2 separate regions of the Homo sapiens genome follow, and region 1 is linked to region 2. The links are contacts of gene promoters, found by promoter capture Hi-C in human tissues and cell types (Jung and others, 2019). All regions are on one chromosome and are shown on one strand. The core of a region is centred on a gene start or on the middle of the fragment in contact, and the rest is flanking DNA. Distances in the headings are between cores, read along the strand shown. Region 1 holds the start of LOC124900423 (small nucleolar RNA SNORA72). Region 2 holds the start of SLC41A1 (solute carrier family 41 member 1).

Evidence for each region. Contacts are between HindIII fragments. The study calls those that stand out against the background at their distance.
Region 1: a fragment that was not itself captured here is called in contact with the fragment with the promoter of SLC41A1 in region 2 in 3 of the 25 tissues and cell types used here (IMR-90 fibroblasts, adrenal gland and hippocampus).

Annotation. Positions count from the first base shown.
Region 1 is chr1:205,729,946-205,733,933 of GRCh38, forward strand. All of the region lies in intron 1 of NUCKS1 (nuclear casein kinase and cyclin dependent kinase substrate 1), which reads right to left. LOC124900423 (small nucleolar RNA SNORA72) reads right to left here and starts at 1,407; the gene lies at 1,276-1,407. The HindIII fragment of the contact is 6,338 bases long and covers 1-3,988 here.
Region 2 is chr1:205,811,375-205,815,341 of GRCh38, forward strand. It overlaps SLC41A1 (solute carrier family 41 member 1), which reads right to left and starts at 1,824. Exons shown (of 11, transcript NM_173854.6): 1 at 1,434-1,824. RefSeq lists silencers at 1,555-1,814, 1,955-2,184 and an enhancer at 1,618-2,118. The HindIII fragment of the contact is 10,091 bases long and covers 1-3,967 here.

The sequences.
Region 1 (3,988 bases), core at 365-2,864, 82 kb before region 2:
AGGGGTCAGAGGTTGTGGTGAGCCGAGATACCTCCATTGCACTCCAGCCTGGGCAACAAAAGTGAAACTCCATCTCAAAAAAAAAAAAGAAAAGAAAAAAAAAGAAAATTATTTAATTAATTTTTTGAGACAGGGTGTCACTCTGTCGCCTAGGCTGGAGAGCAGTGACACAATCATGGCTCACTGCAACCTTGACCTACTGGGCCCAAGTAATCCGCCTGCCTCAGCCTCCTGAGTAGCTGGGACTACAGACGCATGCTGGCTAATTTTTTTTCATTTTTTGTAGAGACAGGGTCTCCTGGTGTTGCCCAGGCTGGTCTCAAACTCCTGAGCTCAGGTAGTCATCCTGCCTCAGCCTCCCGAAGTGCTGGGATTACAGGCACGAGCCACTGCACCCAGCCAAAAATTATTTTTTAAAGGCCCCCACTTAAGCCTAAGTACTTAACATTCTGTTATAAGAAAGCATAGCATAAACCACAAGTATGTCAAGCTACAATTCTCATACTGCTCATCTCAGTGATAATTCAAATACCATTCTTTTCTCTCTCTTTTTTTTTTTTTGAGATGAAGTCTTGCCCTGTCGCCCAGGCTAGAGTGCAATGGCGAGATCTTGGCTCACTGCAACCTCTGCCTCCCAAGTTCAAGCGATTCTCCTGCTTCAGCCTCCCGAGTAGCTGAGATTACAGGCGTGTGCCACCACGCCTGGCTAATATTTGTATCTTTAGTAGAGACGGGGTTTCACCATGTTGGCCAGGCTGGTCTCCCCTGATCTCGTGATCCGCCCGTCTTGGCCTCCCAAAGTGCTGGGATTACAGGCGTGAGCCACCGTGCCCGGTCTCAAATACCATTCTTTTCTACAAAACAATCTCCCGTCTCTCAAAACAAATATACATAAAACAGCAAAATGAGCCAAATCACCATGTACCTATGTATTCATTATATACAAAGATGCCCTATTTATAAGCTAAAGTTGTAAATGATATTTTACTCTTACTGCTACACACATATATATGTATACTTGATAAACAAGGTTATTACTAAGCTTTTCAAGGCAAAAGCAATTTTTAGGTATAGTACAGTTACATTATAATGCACAAAAATTATGGTAATGTTAAGCTTTATACAGAAGGGGAAGGAAACAAATTAATTGGTCCAGTCAAAAGATGCTTTATTTAAAAAACTATGAAAGCCTCACAGATTTATGTACATCTATGTATTTGACTCTATTCTTTTGTTTCTAAACTTTTTTTTTCCTTTTCCAATTTTACAGACCTGGTTTATCAGCAACATTTATAAAACTAGACCTCAGGAAAGAACTAGTTCTGGGGATATATGCATGGTCTTAATAAAGTGAATGGTTAGCCTGTCCTGACTATTACAAAATCAAAACAGTGAGAATATCTGCAGAATCTATTTGACTCTAAATGACTTTAAGTACTCCCTATCAAGTAACGTATCTTTAACATCTCAAACAAATCTTCATTTCTATTTTTGTACTCTGCACTCTAAATCTAAAAGTTTAATACTTCTTCTCTAGAGATATACATGTAAGCTTCCATGTTAGTACCCAAACAGCCTACCTGGCAAAAGAGCCTTAGATTAAAAAATGCACTGTTACTGTAGGCCTAAATTGATCAAGTGAACTTAAAAAATTAAGAGAAATAGGCCAGGCGCAGTGGCTCACGCCTATAATTTCACCACTTTGGGAGGCCGAGGCGGGCAGATCACGAGGTCAGGAGATTGAGACCATCCTGGCCAACGTGGTGAAACCCCGTCTCCACTAAAAATACTAAAAAATTAGCTGGGTGTGGTGGCGGGCGCCTGTAGTCCCAGCTACTCGGGAGGCTGAGGCAGGAGAATGGCTTGAACCCGGGAGGCAGAGCTCGCAGTGAGTGAGCCAACATCACGCCACTGCACTCCAGCCTGGGCGAAAGAGAGAGACTCCGTCTCAAAAAAAAAAAAAAAATTTAAGATAAATATACATTACCACCTATACTTAAACCTGAGCAGAGGGATATTCTTGGCTGTATAGATTAAGACACCATTTAAATTCAAAGACAGGATGGTCAGACTGCAAACACTGGTCCACCTTCTAGTATAGTATGTGGAGATGGTATGGATGGAGGTGAATTCTGGAAAAAAAGGCTTGGGCTTATATGTAGAGGAATATATAGTTACATACTCAGCATTAGAAAGAGAAAAAACAAGGCTCTTAAGGAGTTCCACCTTCTGTTTTTCTTTAGTTTAACAAAACTATAAAATATACTCCAACTATATATTTTATTGTAAGAAGCTGAGTTTATATTACCAAAGATACTATATTATTAGGAAAGCTAACTTTAAATATGACTATTAATTCCATGTACATGAGGGACCTAGAGTAGATGAATTCAGAGAGACAGAAAGTAGAGTGGTGGTTGCCAGAGGCTGGAAGAGTGGGGATGAGGAGCTGTTGTTTAGTGGGTTTAGTTTCAGTTTTGCAAGATTAAGAGTTCTTTACAACAATGTCAAGTACTTAACAATACTGAACTATACACTTAAAAATGGTTAACATGGGCCGGGCACAGTGGCTCATGCCTGTAATCCCAGCACTTTGGGAGGCCAAGGTGGGCGGATCATGAGGTCAAAAGATCGAGACCATCCTGGCCAACATGGTGAAAACCCGTCTCTAGTAAAAGTACAAAAATTAGCTGGGCGTGGTGGTGCGTGCCTGTAGTGCCAGCTACTTGGGAGACTGATGCAGGAGAATTGCTTGAACCTGGGAGACAGAGGTTGCAGTGAGCAGGGATCGCACCACTGCACTCCAGCCTGGCAACAGAGCAAGACTCTGTCTCAAAAAAAAAAAAAAAAGTTAAGATGGTAAATTTTATGCTAAGCATATTTTATTACAATAAAAATATATTTTCTTTCTTAAAAATATGACTATGAAAAAATCTAATATTTTTGGGCTACTATGGAAATGCCTGCCATGTTCTGGCAAAACAGTGATTTTTTAATGACAAATGCCATGAAAAATAGTATGATGATCATAATGCAAACACGACCATTTTCTGTATTATTTAGGATAAAAAAAATGGGTCATAGAACCAGGGGAAGAAAGGTATCTAGAAGAGGAACTCTTACATCTTATCCTCTAATAATTAAAATACAGGTTCCGAACTTGTAGGTATAATTCTAGCTTATCCCATGCTTGTGGGGTGGCAACTAACATATTATTACCCCATTTCTGGGTACGACGTAGCAATGGATATATCCTATGAAACTACATAAGGATGGACAACCAGAATGGTAAACGGTATATCATATGAAGAACAAATGAATAAATTGAGAATATTTAACTTGTAAAATGGGAAAACATGTTAGCTACTTTAGGGCTTTGATGTGAAAGGAGTAGTAGAGGTACAGCTTAGCTTTAGCAATCACATTAAGTGTAGGTTCAACATAAAGAGCTTTAACTGTCTGCTAACAATGGCTACTTCCTTACTCTATCACTAGAAACACTCAAGAAAGGAATTAGTATGGACTCTTTGTACTAGGAATCCTGGGTTCTGGTTCTAGAATGTCAAGAAAATCATGTAATTTCTCTGGGCCTTAGTTCTTCCTCTGTTGGAACTGATAACCTAAATTGCTTGACAGATCTAAAAGATATTCTATAAAATTAAATGTTTAAATAATAAATTAAATAATAAATAAAATATTTAATAAATAACATAAATGGCAGGCATTATATTAAAATATAATATAGAAAATGGTCACTGCAAATGATCATATTGCATTATGATCACAATACTGTTTTTCATGGCATTTGTCATTAAAAATTAACTGCCCTCCACAACAGAAGAAAACTTAATCTCCTCCTCCTTCCCTGTATATCTATCTGTATCTATCTAGACAGACCTACCTACCTATCTTCCATCTGTCCGTCCACCCATCCATCCATCCAACAATTGAGACAGGGTCTTGTTCTGTCATCCAGGCTGGAGTGCAG
Region 2 (3,967 bases), core at 574-3,073:
CAGAAGCCCTCTGCACTGTTTCCTCAGCAACTGGGGGTGGGTAGGTGTGTCCTCAGCAAGACCCCTTCTTGAATGCCCATTAAGAACCCTGCATTATTTAAGTGGGGTTCAGTTACAAATTCAGTCACAAACTCCCTGCCACACAGCCACCCCTGTATAAAGTGACTGCTTATCATCACAAGACAGCAACAGAAAGACAGCCACACAGGGCAAAGAAATAGGGAGAAACTGATTGCTGAGTGAAGTCCCCCAGACCCCAGATCGTTCTAGCTTCTGAGAAAACAAAACAAAGCTAGGAGGACTCCCTGGGCAGTGGGGCAAGCCTGCCAGACCAAGGCCAAGAGCCAGAGGCCTACCCACTCCTGCCCTTGAGAGTCAACAGTGTTACAAAGAGCTCAGACAGCTGACTCGGATCCAGGCCTCTGTCTCTCCCCGTCTCCCCCTGCTCTTGGCCCTGTGAGCTTGTCAGATAGGACAAGGGAGTTATCTCAGTTAGAAGGGACAGAGCATAAAACGATTGCTTATTACCCACGCATTTCAGTTAATTAGGCTCCTCCTGTTCCCCAGGGTTACTGAGAGTTGGATATAGTGGAATTCTTAGAAACAAAAACAAAAAAACAAAAGTAGCAATAAAAAAAACCCAAAACAAAAACCAAAGCACCGTAAGCCAATATGCACTTGCTCCAAATGCATCTCTTTAGCTGTAATGGCTCCACTTCTCTGCCTAAAGGAATCCCCAGGCTTCCTAATTCCTGATGGACTCCCATCCTATTCCATTTCACCAGAAGAGCTCTTATTCGTAAAAAATAAATTTAAAGAGAGTTCCACCAGGTAAGAGGAACAGGTCCTTAAGTATTCCAAACACACACAATTAGTCAAGTTCAGTTTAGGAAAGGAGGTATCAAACCCCAGGAACTGGCCCAGGAGAACTGTTTCCTCTATCAATTCAGTCACCCACCAGGACTCCCTTTTCCAATCTCCTTAAACACAGTACTGTGGTTCTTTCAAACTCCCTCACCAGAGATCCAGGAGGAAACCTCTGAGTCCAGTGCCCCTATGCCAGAAAAGTTTCTGAGTCCGCTAAAAGCTGACACCCCCGCCTCCCTCCTGTGTTCCTGGCAGGCCACTGAACCTGAGAGGGGGCTCCCAGGAGGGGAAGCCAGTCCTCCCTCACCACTCCCCCTGTAAAGAGACTTCAGACAGGCCTAAGGCCCTGGGACGAAAGAAGCAAAAGTGAACCAGGACGCCCTATCCCCTCCTCCCAGGCGGGGACAAAAAAGACCCATTTTAGTATCCCCAACCCCGAGGAGGGAGAGAAAGTAACTGGGTGGCCTCCTCAGTCTCTCCACCACTCAGATTCAGCAAATGCGCTGCGCGCCAGGACTGCCGCCCTCCACCACCCCCTCCCCGCCCCAGGACCCCACAGGACTGACCTGCCCCTCGCCTGGGAGGAAGGGGGGCGCCTGGCAAGTGGCAGCGTGGCCCGTGGTCTCGGGGGGTGCAGGGCACCCCCTCTTCTCATCACTCCTCCTCGACAGTCCTCCTTGGCCCCCGGCGTGCCCCCCCACACCCCCAGCCAAGGCGAGCGTCCAGCCGCGACACCCGGCTCGCTACATTTCGCTTCTGCGTTACAGCGAGGCCGCCGCTCCGCTTCCACGCGGGGGAGGTGGCCGGGGAGGGCAGGATATATCGCTTCGGGCCCGGCGGGGGGGCACCCGGACGGGGGACCGGGGAGCCGAGCTCACGCGCCCCCAATCGCTTCTTGCCCGCGGACTCGGGCCCAACTGGTTGGCTGCCGGTGGCAAACGTGATCTGGGGCAGACTGGGTGGCACCCCCCCCGCTCCATCAAAAATAGATTCTCGGATGGACAACAGCAGCAGCCAATCAGGGACTGGGGAGGGGGCGGGATCAACCTCGGCCCGGCCCCCTTCCTTCGCTTCGTGCCCAGGAGGCGGGGCGCCGGGGAAACGCAGTAGGAGGAGTGACGGGAACCGGGAGCCGGCTCCATGCGCCTGGAGCGCGCGGGTCCCAGCGCCCATCGGCCCGGGGTCCGAGGGGCCCGCTGCCCGGGCTCGCTGCGTGGTGCTACCGCCCCCGGGCCCGCTGCGCCGCGTCGGAGCCCCAGCAGACTTTGAGAGGCGTGTGCGACAGTGCGCGTCCTCTCCTGCCTCTGGATGTTTCCTTGGAGCCTCTGGCCTTCGGGAAGACCGGTAAACGTCCCTGTGGAGCCAGCCAGCCAGCCACCTCTGACCCCCGGGCTCAAGCAGCCAGCCGCGTGCTCCCTCCTCCCACTTGGTACCCGGACAGAACAGTCCCTACCTTGCTCTTCTCCCGCCGGCTCGTCACTTTAGGCTCCCTCCAGATTCCGCGTTCCTTGAGCAAATGGCTCACCCCTGACGAATCCGGCCTTAAAAAAGTCCCGGCCTTGAAAGGGGTGGAGACTGGCGGGCGGGAGCGAAAGGAGGTCAGACCCATGGCTGGGGTCGCACACGCATCACCTGAGGTCGGAGAGGAGGGGAGCCTCACTTCCTCTGACCCACTGAGCCTGGTGGCAGCGTGCGGAGAGATGTCACCATCCCGGACTAAATGAAATCCAACTTTCCCTGACGCACCTTGTGGGATCAAAGAGGGGTGTTCCCATGCTCACCTTTCGCCACTTCCTCCCTGGGGTATCTCCACCTCTCCAACACAAGCTCAATGCCAGTTCTCTTTGGGATGTTTTTGTGCAGGGGGTGTGACCTCCCTCATAAAGGAACCCCCACTCCCAAGTTTTCCCCTCTTGTCAGTGGAACCTGTGACCAACGGTTCCTTCCTGTCCTTTTCCTCCCTGAAAGTAGCCCGGGGGCATTCGAACATGGCTCTAGACCCCTGAATAGGGTTTGGAGCGGAGATGTGCCTGGGGAGAAGAGATCGCAGTGCTGTGTATGAAGCTTTGGGCACGTGCTCACAAGAGCACACACAGCAACCTGAGCAGGTCATTCCTTTTGATAAGGATGACAAATACACATACCAAACCCTGTTCCCCTCACCCACCCCAAACCAGTACCCCCAGGATGATTCCAGATCAGCTCTGGAGCATTTGCATCAAGGGCCTGCAGACTCACAGGACCTACTAGAGCAAAATATCAGTGTCTCAGACCCCAGTTTTGGCCTCAAATACTGGGTTTTTCTGCCAGGAGAAGTAGCTGCTAGTCTAGGAAATGCTGGGACTTGTCCAGAAAGATGAGGTTTGTGAATACGGGGTGTGGGGTTGGGTGGGGAATTAAGGCTGATGTATCTGGAGGAACTTTGGTTGGGCTGGAGGCAACTTCTGCCCTGTTCTATTCAACAGTTCCCTCCCCTCCACTACCCCATTTAATCTGGCCACAGCTCAGCTACCTGTGTATAAAATCTTGATCTCTCTCCTATTTCCTTTCTACCTTCCGTGTTTTTACTTACTCGAAAACTGTTCCCCTCTCCTGTGTGTATTTTTTTAATTGAAATATACCAGGCATTTAGGAAAGGAACACGAAACCTAAGTGTACAGGTCAACAAATGATGACACAGTGAACACCCCCATATGACCACCATCCAGATCTAGAACGAGATCATTATTGGCATCCCAGATACCCTCCTTCTATCCGCTCCTGGTGACTATGCCACACTCCTTCTCAAAAGTAACGTTTATCTAACACTACAGGTTAGTTTTGCTTACTTCTGAACTTTATATACATGGAACCATTCAGTAGGTATTATTTTGTGTCTGGCTTCTCTCACTCAATACTATGTTTATGAAACTCATCCAAAACATTGTGGTAGCAGTAGCTTATTTGTTTTCATTGCCGTACGGTATGCCATTAAATAAATATACCACAATTTATCTGTTATTCTGTTGACGGACATTTTGGTTGTTCCTACTTTGGGGTTATTATGAATAAGGCTGCGATAACGTTTTTGTTCATGTCCTTTGGTACACTTACGTTCATA